4 separate regions of the Homo sapiens genome follow, and all the other regions are linked to region 1. Evidence: promoter capture Hi-C in 16 types of primary human blood cells and fetal thymus (Javierre and others, 2016). All regions are on one chromosome and are shown on one strand. The core of a region is centred on a gene start or on the middle of the fragment in contact, and the rest is flanking DNA. Distances in the headings are between cores, read along the strand shown. Region 1 holds the start of SFXN5 (sideroflexin 5). Region 2 overlaps EMX1 (empty spiracles homeobox 1). Region 3 overlaps EXOC6B (exocyst complex component 6B). Region 4 has its middle 8.9 kb from the start of EGR4.

Region 1 (2,898 bases), core at 291-2,790:
CAGTGTTGCCCAGCAGCCTGAACTTAGTCTTTTCTGACTCCCAGGGTACCCACATTTATTGCGCACCTAAGATGGGCCCATTTATTGGTAATACAGAGGGTAAGAAATGGATTCCTATTCTCAAGTTGCATGGTCTAGCAGGGGAAGATAAGATACAAATCCAAGATACAAATAGTTCTTCATGGCTAGATAGAATCTCTAAGATAAGATACAAATCCAAGATACAAATTGTTCTTCGTGGCTAGCTAGAATCTCCCCCTAGCTTTATGAAAAGTGTTTCTTGTGGTTCAACTACTAGAGGATGAAAAACTTTGACTGCTACAGCTCATGTAGTGTCCAGAAACACTGGCAGACATGAGCCAACCCTGCACTCCACCACGAGACTAATGAGACCCAAAGTGGAGTTCCCTAGAAGACCAAATATTTCTACTGTCATCTTGGGCAAAACAGGCAGCTCCCGAAGTCTGGCTCACTGACCAGGTAATTCAGCTGGGAATCTTCAGCTAATCCATTCTACAACTGTATGTGTTTATTATCCATACTGATCCTTACTCCACAATCTGTAATACTCCCCCTTACCTAACACCCTCCCCACCCACCCTAGTCCCAAGTTCTCCTCCTGCCCAGGAATTAGGCCCAGGAGGGATCTTCCTTGGTTGGCCAGACAAGGTGAAAGCTGCCAGGGCTCTTAATCCCCCACTGATGAACTCACAGCCAACACTTATTTGAGTCTCTACTGTGAGCCCTTTTATGTCTGGCTCTGAAAACTGAAGTGAATCAAAAAGTCATAGCCCCTGCCCTGTGAACTTTACAGTAAGAAAGACTGTCCAGAACAGTAAGTAGTTGTGAGTGCAAAAGAGAAGTGCTGGGTGCCACGGAGCCTCTGTGGGATTTTGTGCAAGCAGAGTGATGGACTGGGAAATGCAATGTTTAGGCTAAAGCCAGAAAGCCAGCATCAGGCGAAGATTTAGTCTTCCGGGTACAGAATGTTCAGGGGTCGGGAGGCGGGCAGGCCCCAGCATGCTCCAGGAACTGAGTGTCAGGGCAGCCGGAGAGCACAGGACGAGTGGGCAGGGTGGCGACGGAGGAAAGTACGAGAAGGTCCGCAGTGCAACTCCTTGGAGAAAGCCTTCCGAGGTTAACCCTACTCCGCCTGGAGTCTTTGCCCATCTGGTCCCAGGTTCCCCCTTGAATGGGACCCTTCTGCGCTGCCTGGCCCCAGGAGCGACGCCCACGGCAGCAACTCTAACTTCTGGGGGCAACTAAGCAGCGAGGGGTGGCCCGTGGTCGTCGTACAGGAACACCTTTCCTGGACTGCCGACCTTGCACCTTGCAACGCGGACAGCGGGCACCGAGACCTCTCCGGACGGCCGCAACTCTCCGCAGTCTACGGTTGTAAGCGCCGCGACGCGAAAAACTACACTCCCCACAACGCCTTGCGCCTCCCGCTCGCTGCGGTTGATTAGGGCCAATCGGGAGAGGCAGCTGTGGCGGGGGCCGAGGAGGGACATTTTAAAAGGGCCGGAGATTGCGGGCGTCAGTGGCCATGGCGGATACAGCGACTACAGCATCGGCGGCGGCGGCTAGTGCCGCTAGCGCCTCGAGCGATGCACCTCCTTTCCAACTGGGCAAACCCCGCTTCCAGCAGGTGAGGACCGGGCTGTGGTCTGCGGGCCGGCGGGTGGCAAAGAGAGGACGAGCAAACTCCCCTCCAAAGTCCCCTTCCGCCCAAGGGTCTCCCACCCGCGGCCAGCGGAGCCTGCAGCTAGCGCCAGGGGGGGAACCTCGGTCACAGTCACCCTTTTCCCATTGGTCAACGGGGCGGGCGCGGACTCCCATCTTGGCTTCCTATTGGCCCTTGGCGCCGTCACTCCCCGACTGCCCGCGCCCTCTAGCCTTTCCCGCCCGCGGCGCCCTGTGATTGGCCACCGGCGGCTGCGGTCAAGGTCCCGAGCGCCCGGCTTCGAGCGGCTGCTCAGGGTCGCTCCGGGTTGTGCAGCTGCCCGCCCGGGACGCAAAGTTCTAGTCTGGCCCTGGATGGGAAGTTGGCGTGGCCGGGATGCCTTCTAACTTTTTCCCCCGGTGGGGACTGACGTTCCTTTCGAGCTGCTGGCGGTGCCGCCGGGCAGCGTCGCGCCCCGCGGTCACTCCCCAGCCCTGGCCCCCAAGCCGGGCTCGGCGCGCGCAGCAGGTTGAGGGGGCGAGTGCCGAGGCGAGCGGCGGTCCGGCGTCCCCCGTCCCTGCTCTCCATCTCGGGCTGAGGATTCGCTGACGCAGCAAGCCGGCCGATGCCCTGAGGGGACGCAGCCAGGGCGTGCGGGGGAAACGCTGTGTCATCCCCTGGGGCCGTCGTCCCTCCGAGGGGCTGCCGCCTGGGAACCCCCCCCCAGCCTCTTCCTCGCTGTGTTCTCCGCGGAGGGTCTCCCGCGCCCGGGCCCCCGCGCCGCCGGGGACTGGCTCTGGGCACACCCGCTCAGGCTCTTCGGGGCACGGCGACAGGGGTCCTTTCCCTCCGGGACCTCCTCTGGGGCGTCGCCGACTCGGCCCTAGACTGCGGAGGCGGGGGTGGAACGCGGAGCCCGGGCGCCTGGTTGGGCCCGGAGACCGGAGCCGGGGAGGGGCCGCTCCCGCGCCGCAGACCCTCGGGCTCCCGCGCCTCCCGCACCAATGAGACGGAATTTATTAGGAAACAGGCAGAGAGACCGCTGAAGTGAACCGGGGCTTGCCAGGGGTGGGCGGCAGCCGAGGCGGCCAGAAAAGAACTTTGAAGGAAGAAAGGAAATTGTGCTAAGGTCGGTGCGGTGGCTTTTTTTTTCTTTTTTTGTTGTTGTGGTGGAAGGGGACTGGTTCCAGCAAGGGGGTGCCCCGAGCTTTGCTGATAATTAGGGAACTTGGCTC
Region 2 (2,778 bases), core at 114-2,613, 150 kb after region 1:
ACGAGGCGTGGACCCACATTCACAATGCCTGGGGCAGCGGAAGAGGCCAAGGGGTGGGGAAGAAAAGTCCATGGCGCTCTTTCTCCGCCCTTTCCCAGGGGCGCTGCCCTGGCCGCCAGCCCCAACGATTTGCTTTCAGTTAACTGGTCGCAAAGCATCTCCCTCCAAGAGGACCCAGGGTAGAGGCAGGGCTGGGGGTCAGGAACGTGATAAGGGGAGCAGCGGGGTGCTAGGCACACCTTTGCCAAACACAGATTCAAGAACTAGAAGGTACACAAGGAGCAATCCCTTCACACCTGCTTGCACTAGTCTTGCGGCTGAATGCTCAGGCTACTAACTCATTAAAAACTCCTGCCAGCACGCTCTAGCTCTGTCTTGCAGGGGGTATAAATAGGCCAGTGGCTAGGTCAGTGGTCCAGGCAGCACCTGGAAGTGGAAAGTCAGGCTCCTTCTTCCCCTTTCTCCACCTCTCTCTCCCCCAGGCCTTGGCGGTCCAGAGACCCAGCCTCTAGGGTAAGCCCCCAACCCCCTATCCCAACACACACACTGGAGACTCCAAGTACTGTCTGGTGGGAAAAGCTTCATCCCTGCTTCATCCCTGAATAGTCCCTTGCTAAAGAAACATGTGTATAAATATCTAGATGTCATCTTTCTCTCTAATATATATAGATATAGATATATTGGTTTCTGCATGGGCGTGTGTAAATATATGTTCCAGCCTCCCTACTGTCTTTTTTCCTATCTACTGTATAGGATTTTTAGAGTGTGACTGTCCCTTAGCAAATGTTGGCCAGCATAGGGACTCAGCTCCCACATGCAGGAGGAAGGGATAACACTGGACTGGATGAAGCTGGGGTAGGGGAGATGGGGTCAGAAACTATCAATGCCAAAACAAGCCTCTACCCACAGCGCCTGTCTCAATGAACACCCCACTAGGCCCTCACACAATCTCTGGCTTGGTTGCACATGCTAACAGACTCATAACAGGCCCTGACAAAATCACCCATGGATTCTCATGTAAGGGCACATAACAGCCTCCTGATGCACCAAAAACACGGAACCCTAGATGGATTATTTTGACAGAATTAGCTGTTGGGATTGACTGATCCAATTAATTTCTTCAGAGATGGCTACTGGTTGGACTTGATTTGACCTGTTGCTTTGCTCTAAGACAATCACCTGGATAATTCAGTTAACATCTCCCATCTCTGGAAACATCTATGTAAGTGAATCAAAAGCAGATAATTGAGATGCTGTAGCTAAAACTCTCCAGGTAACTGTTCTTGTCCCTCTGTTGGTGGAAACTCCCTGACCTTACTTCCTCCAAGTCTCTGGGCTTTGGTTACCTAAAGAAGCCAAGTTTTTGCTGGAGTTTTCTGTGGAACAGAGTTGCTAGGATTGCGGGGCTAGTGCCTGGAAGGGGTCAGTCAATAATCTCCAGTCACCTTATCAATTTCAACTGGTTGGATCTGTGCAGCCACAAAAATGGTGGGACCACATCACAGGGAGATGGGTGAGGGACACCCCATTTGATTATTCAAGTGGCGCAGATCTAGGGCCCTCAGGTCCGACTGAAGAGAAGTTTGACTTGGGATAGTGGAATAGACAGATGGTCAGGGGAGGTGGTCTGGCAGAGATGAGTAAAGGGCAGAAAAATATGGAGCCTGCTCCAGGTGGGGAATAAGGAAGATTAAAGTCTCTGGGGTGGGGCCAGTGAGGTAGGCCAGGGAAAGGTGGGTGGAAAGCAAATGCTTCTTGTTAATGTTAATAACTTGCTTCAAAAAACAACATTGTTATGAACCTGGGTGAAGTCCCAACAGTGGTTTCCTCTGGACAAATGAACCAGAGAGGGAGAGAGAAAGCCTAGCTCATCCCAGCATTGGCAGGGTTTGGCCTCAGATGCTGGGCTGGCCCAGGTTGGTCAGAAGTGAGGCTGCAGTGTGGAAAGCCCCGTAAGTGTGTATGAATAGGAGGCAGAGGTGTGAAGGGCAGTGTGGGGCTGAGGAAGCAGGTCTGCAGTCTGCCCCAGTGTCTCTGACTTAGTGATTATTTTGTAATTATGTGGTATATGTCAGTCACCTGTGTGGTGGAGTGCTCTGTGTTTGTCTTTATAAACCCAGATGAGAGGATGAAGGCAACAAGCTTCTGTACCAACATACATGCCCCTTTGCCTCAAGTCTGGTTATTTTAGGGGGATGCTAGGTTGCTTTGGGTCTACCTTACTGAGAAAATGGCCCCAGGTCATTGTCATGTCCAGTTGTGGTAGACAGCATGTGTCCTAAAGGGTATATTCACATGCATGTGCAAAAATACAGGGGTCCTTCTAACCCTATCACAGAGAAGCAGGAGACTGCAGGATGAGTCAAGATGCTAAGTGATGACAGGTTATTTGATTCCAAAAGAATAAGGACGTTTCCCTGTTAGAAAGAGGATGTTTAGTACAACACCAAACATCCTGAGAAACAGATCAATTGCTACATGTTTCTGCAAAGACAAGGGTGATGCCTTAGGTGCACAGGTACCTGTACCGCCCCGCCCCCCGACCTGTGGGAAGGAGGCCTGAACCACCCCTACCAGGGGTTCAGTTTCCCTTGCCTGGACCACAAGGGCAGAACAAACTTGGGTCTAGGGTGCGGCCTGTTTGGACGCAGTAATTCTGGGCTGTGAGAACGGGCTGTCAGTTTCGGACTAGGACAGTTAGCAAAGTGGAAAGGGACTGGTATAGCCGTCCCTGGAGCTAGGGAAATGAATACCCCTCTCCTCCCTGCTTCCCTACCC
Region 3 (3,112 bases), core at 475-2,974, 250 kb after region 1:
GTAACATAAAGTATATTAATGATACAGTTACCTTTTTCACTGTTAAAACAGTATGTCAACATATGGAATTTGGAAACTAGATTAAAAATTGCTTACAATTCTATAACACAGCTGCTGTTGTTTTGGTGCTTTTCCTTCTAGAACTTTGCCTTATATATTTTATTATTACAAAGCTTTACTTATGGGTGTAGGAATAATTTTCTGTCTTGCTTTTTTAAGTTGTTTGTTTATAAAGCTAGCTCTTTATAAACAAGAAACAAATTGAGGGGGATATTTTCAAAAGGCTGTTTTATTTAAGGTCATTTGATAAGTGAATATGGGGATGTGGCATCCACTTACTACTTCTGTGCCTTTGACCACATGGCTCTTATTTTTCCATCCAGCACCCTCTCCCATTAATTCATCTTTACAGAGATCAGTTAATCATAATCCTTGGTTCGTGACACTTTCTCATTATAGGTCCATGGCTCTCTTTAATAAATTAAATCAATTTATTTTTATAAGCAACTTACCACCCAAGTGGGCAATTTTTTCTCATCTAAAAAGTGATTAGAAAAATGAAGATAAAGCATCCTTCATGGTACAATGCAAGGTACCAAGCTAGGACTACTGCCTAGCAGGTAGCATGAATGATGCTTTCTCTCTCTCTCTCTCTTTTTTCTTTTCATACTCTTCCTCCAATGTAGATGGGGTGCCATGGTACCTGCTAGGCATTGGTCACTCAAGTGTGAGTCATCTTCCACCTTTACCCTTGGGTTTGCTATGTGGACTTAAGTATTTCTATTTTTTGAGTTTTGTTAGTTTAGTGGTTAGCCTATTTTTTTTGTTTCCTTTTCCTGGTCCCACATATCTAAGGGATATAATACTTATCAATAATCAATCCTGGGAGGGGTTATTTTGGGGTGGAGCAGAGAAAGGAGGAGGAGATAGGAAATAAATATATAAAAGCCCTTCAGGTGATTGTGATATACTCCGTCCTTGACAATCACTGAGGGGAAGAACATTCCCATTGCTCATGCTTATTTTTTAATAGTAGTGCCCTTTTAAAAATGACATTTTTATATTTTAATTATAAATGTAATAGAATGACTTAAGAAGAAACAACAACAAATAACTTAATTCTATTACCTTTCCACCACTTTTATATTTTTATATTTCCTCTTAACTTTTTTATATGCATGTTATTATATTAAATATTAGATGATTATTATGTGTCTTGCTTTTTCAGTTAACATGTTATATACAGGTTTATACATTATAATGATGTCACTTTAGTGGCTTTATTAATGAATTGATTCATTCATATATTCATTCAATATTGAGCAATGTCTATGTGCCAGATACTCTTCCAGGCTCTGGGGTACAGCAGGCAGCAATATAGACAAGTCCCTATCCTTATTGAGCTTATAGAGTCCGGAGTGGGCACTTACAGAATAAATGAATAAATATATAATGTAGTGCTATTTAGCGATTAATGTTACATAATGACTGGGTTATTGCTTTCAATTAGGGGATTAGGAAAGGTAGCTTTGGCAAAGGTTTGAATAGAGTGAAGCAACAAGCCATATGGCTCTCTGTGAGGGAAATACCTTCCATACAAAGGGGACAGTAAGTGCCAAGGCCCTCAGGAAAAGGATAACGGTGGGAAGTGGTGGTAAGAAAGTAGTCAGGGTCCAGATCATGTAGACTAAGAAAGAGACTTTGATTTTATTCTAAATGTTATGGAAAGGTACAGGAGAGTTTTTATTCTGAGCATTATGGGAAAGTACAGGAGAGTTTTGAGCAGGAAAGTGACATGTGGTCACTTAGATTAAACAAGGAATGTGGCCAGGTACAGTGGCTCATGCTTGCAATCTCTGCACTTTGGGAGGCCAAGGAGGGCAGATCACTTGAGGCCAGGAGTTCAAGACCAGCCTGGCCAACATGGTGAAACCGTGTCTCTACTAAAAATACAAAAATGGCCTGGCACGGTGGCTCACGCCTGTAATTCCAGAACTTTGGGAGGCCGAGGCGGGCGGATCACGAGGTCAGGAGATCGAGACCATCCTGGCTAACATGGTGAAACCCCGTTTCTACTAAAAATACAAAAAAAAAAAAAAAAAAAAAAATTAGCTGGGCCTGGTGGCAGGCACCTGTAGTCCCAGCTACTTGGGAGGCTGAGGCAGGAGAATGGCGTGAACCTGGGAGGCGGAGCTTGCAGTGAGCCGAGATCGCGCTACTGCCCTCGAGCCTGGGAGACAGTGCGAGACTCGTCTCAAAAGAAAAGAAAACAAAACAAAAATTAGCCTGGCGTGGTGGTGGGCACCTGTAATCCCAGCTACTCAGGAGGCTAAGGCAGGAGAATCACTTGAACCCAGGAGGTAGAGGTTGCAGTGAGTGGAGATCGCACCACTGAACTCCAGCCTGGGCGACAGAGCGAGACTCTGTCTCAAAAACAATGACAACAACAACAACAAACAAACAAGGAATGTTCTGGCTGCTGTGTGGAGACAGAGTAAGAGAGGAAACAGGGAAACCAGTTAGGGGATGTTTGCAGTAATAAGAGGCAAGAGATGGTTATGGCATGCAATATGGTAATAGGGAGGAGGTGATGAGAAGTAGCTGGATTTAGAATATGTTTTGAAGGTAGTGCCAAAACGATGGATTAGTTATGGGAATTAAAGAGAGGATCAAGGATGATTCCAAGGCTCTTGGCCTAAGCAATCAGATGATGGTGATGCCAATTATTGGGATAGGGAACAATAAAGGGAGGAACTTTACTTTTCTTTGAATAACTTATTACAGCCTGACATTTTATTTTTGATTGTCTACCCTGTTGGAATGTCTGTTCAAGGGGGGAAGGGATTTTGTTTCTTTTGTTTGCTGCTGTATCCTGGGAACCCAAAGGGTGCCTGGCATATAGTTGGTGCTCAGTAAATATTTGTTGAACGAATAGAAGAATTAAAAAATTGTATCACCAACTGTTAATTATCTGGGAATTAATTAACTGATTTGCAGATTAACTGTCTTAAAAATATGACTTCTTTTTGAGAGAAAATAAAACTAATGAAAATTTCAAAAGCCTCTACATATCAGAAATGTTTTTTATAACTACATATAACTTTATAGTTCT
Region 4 (3,023 bases), core at 138-2,637, 230 kb before region 1:
GAGTCTTCCCATCCAATAAGACATATGTCCCCACCTAGTCTATTGTTCAATGCCCTTCAGAAAAAATTTTTATCATTTTCTTCATATTCATATTGCACATTCTTAAGTTTATGACTAGTAATTACTCAATTTTTTAAAGTTTTTTTTGCTGAAGTAAATGACATCTTTGAAGTGTGATAAAATATATCAATCACACTTTAAATTGATATATTTTAAAGGTATGTAGTAGGTCATAAGGGTTTATAACTGTTATGTCATCGCCTTGTCATTCATTTCTAAGTTGTCTTCCTTTTGACCTCCTGAAAACAAACATAGAATTAAACAACAACAATCTACTTCCATCAGTAGGAGAATGGATAAACAAATTGGTATATTTAAACAATGGAAAGTTAGTGACTGAGAAAAAAGGATTGATACATACAAAACATTTATTAATTGATACTGATGCATGAAAAACATGGAGTGGGTAAATCTTACAGAGATTATGTTGAGCAAAAGAAGCCAGACACAAAACAGTACGTACTGAATTATTCCATGTATATGAAGTTCAAGAGTAGGCAAAACTAATCTATAGTGATATACTGAGAAATATGGTTACCCGAAAGAGGGGGTATCTACTGACTGGAAAAAGGTACAAGGGAACTTTTTGGAGGATGTAAATGTTCTATATATTGATTTGTGTTAAAAAGTCATCAAATGGTAGATTCACTTAAGATTTGCTCCTTTCACTGTATATAAATTAAAGCTCCATAAATAAAACGTAGTGGGTCAGAGGAAGACTCTGTTTCTCCTACTGATTCTCCACCTAAATAAATGACCACTGGCCAGGCACGGTGGCTCATGCCTGTGATTTCAGCACTTTGGGAGGCTGAGACAGGAGAATTGCTTGAGCCCAGGAATTCAAGACCAGCCGGGGCAACACAGTGAGAGCCCCATCTTTACAAAAAAAAATTTTTTAATTAGCGGGGTGTGGTGGTGCGTGCCTGTGGTTCCAGCTACTTGGGAGGCTGAGGTGGGAGAATTGCCTGAGCTGGGGAAAGTTGAGGCTGCAGTGAGCCATGATCGTGCCACTGCACTCCAGTCTGGGCAACAGAGCATGAGAGCCTGTCTTGAAAAAGAAAAAAAAAAAAACGACTAACCCATGGTCAAAACTGAACCCAAGAGTCAACCTTGACTCCTTCCTCTCTCTTTTGCCCCAAGGGTAGCTATTCACCCTTGTGTGTGTGTTATAAAAGAGCTCCTAAATGGCTGCTGACTCTGAAAGCTTCTCCTTTCCTGTTGCCACCCACTGTTCACGTCTGAGGGCCCACTGTCAGTTGATTTGCCACAGTGGCCTCCTAACTGATCCCCGTTCCAGGTCACCTTCCACGCTGTATCAGAGCATGGAAGGTGGTCTTAGAACGCTGGTCATTCTAAGATAAAAATCGCATCGCCTGTACAGCTTAAATCTCTTCAATAGCATCGTATTACTCTAGGGATAAAGTCCAAATGCCTATGCATAGAAGCTTGTGATCAGATAGGTGGGGAAAAAAAAAAAAAAGTCCAAATGCCTATGCATAGAAGCTTGTGATCAGATAGGTGGGGGAAAAAAAAAAAAAAGTCCAAATGCCTAAACCTGCTTAAAAGGTCTTCTAGGATCCTGAGCTCACCAGTTTCTCCAGCCTGACCCCACTTGCCCTTCCTAGCCTCTTTCCCTCCTCACACTCCAGCCATCATGGGCTTCCGCCAGTTCCCTGAATCCTTTTCTCCTCCCTTGTCTTTTTTCTCTCACCTTCTGGCTTTTGTATATGCTGTCCCCTTTGCCCAGAACATTCTCCCCACTCAACCTTTCCCTTTTTCTGGCTAACTTTTACTTAACCTTCCAGTCTCCATTCAAATGTCACTTCCTTGGGGAAGCCTTCCCTGAATATCTTGTTGAGCTAACGACCTCCTGCTTCCTTCTATGATCTCAAACCATCCGGTCCTTCTCCCGCTGGCACATGCATCACACCTTTCTGTAATAAGTTGTTGAACTGGCTGATGTATTAAGTCCTCAACAAATATTTAGATGAATGAATAATGAATGAATGAGAGCAAGGATTGGAAGAAAACAACTAGTCATGAAATTCATGTCATAGTGACCAATTCCACCCACATACACATAGATGCCCAGAAAACACAGGGCACACATTTGGGGTAGGAAGAATTACTCATCATTTCTTAACTGCATATATTGTTTCTAACCTCGCCTTTTTTTTTTTTTTTTTTTTTTTTGTAGCAAGTGCCTGTGCTTCAACCACCACTTAATTTGTTAATTCTGACTCTTAATCCTGAGACTATAGGTAGAGAAGGTAACATACTCCCATTTCACAGGTGAGAATGCACAAGCACAGAAAGTATTTCGAATTTGTTCAAGGTCACAGAACAAACCAGTGGCAGAACTGGGTCAGACTCAGTTCCTCTGACTCCCTGGCTTGAGGTTTTACTCTATTGTCAGATTCTCTATGTCTCCTGCAGGCCATGTGTCCCTACCAAATGTAGGGATCACCGGTTTGGCCTTTGTGAGAGCAGGTGCTTAGAAATCCTGTTGAACTTTCTTCCTTCGCTACCTACCCTGTACCAGAAACCTGCTGCACAACATTGATAAAACCAGTTCTATTCTAGGCCCTGACTTGCTGCTGCCTGGGGAGGTGACCCCCAGGGCATTCCCCCTCATGCTTAACTGAATAAAACTCCCTGCTGAAGTCTTCACATGGCACACCGCATGAACATGTGGGACCCACTGGTTGCCAAGCCAAATGTGGCTCCAGATTATTCTAGGAAACAAATAAATTGTTTTGCTCTGGATTGAAGGAATTGCTAATTAGGGATTTTTATTTTGAGCAGTGTTCCTTGGAGCTGGCAGACAGATGGAGTAGGCGACTTGCTCCAGGGGCATTGTTAAGCAGAGGGAACTATTTCTGCCCCTGGTTATGAGAACGTGCCAGAGCTCATTGCTGCCCAGCTCTTGCCCTCAAGGACAAGGGAGGCTTCCTGGCTCACAG

Evidence for each region. Contacts are between HindIII fragments. The CHiCAGO score rates a contact against its expected background, and 5 or more counts as called.
Region 2: a fragment that was not itself captured here is called in contact with the fragment with the promoter of SFXN5 in region 1 in 2 of 17 cell types (fetal thymus and endothelial precursors); the score reaches 6.1 in fetal thymus.
Region 3: a contact is called between a fragment that was not itself captured here and the fragment with the promoter of SFXN5 in region 1, in 1 of 17 cell types (total B cells). The highest score is 5.2, in total B cells.
Region 4: a contact is called between a fragment that was not itself captured here and the fragment with the promoter of SFXN5 in region 1, in 1 of 17 cell types (activated CD4 T cells). The highest score is 6.2, in activated CD4 T cells.

The regions. Positions count from the first base shown.
Region 1 is chr2:73,070,354-73,073,251 of GRCh38, reverse strand. SFXN5 (sideroflexin 5) reads left to right here and starts at 1,540. Exons shown (of 14, transcript NM_144579.3): 1 at 1,540-1,648. The coding sequence starts at 1,547. RefSeq lists enhancers at 942-1,421, 1,622-1,671 and a silencer at 1,812-2,601. The HindIII fragment of the contact is 14,604 bases long and covers 1-2,898 here.
Region 2 is chr2:72,921,240-72,924,017 of GRCh38, reverse strand. All of the region lies in intron 1 of EMX1 (empty spiracles homeobox 1), which reads right to left. Among named protein-coding and RNA genes, the nearest start is that of EMX1, 5.1 kb to the right of the region's middle. The HindIII fragment of the contact is 1,563 bases long and covers 582-2,144 here.
Region 3 is chr2:72,817,308-72,820,419 of GRCh38, reverse strand. All of the region lies in intron 1 of EXOC6B (exocyst complex component 6B), which reads left to right. Among named protein-coding and RNA genes, the nearest start is that of EXOC6B, 7.2 kb to the left of the region's middle. The HindIII fragment of the contact is 3,098 bases long and covers 176-3,112 here.
Region 4 is chr2:73,300,893-73,303,915 of GRCh38, reverse strand. No RefSeq gene overlaps it. Among named protein-coding and RNA genes, the nearest start is that of EGR4, 8.9 kb to the right of the region's middle. The HindIII fragment of the contact is 241 bases long and covers 1,267-1,507 here.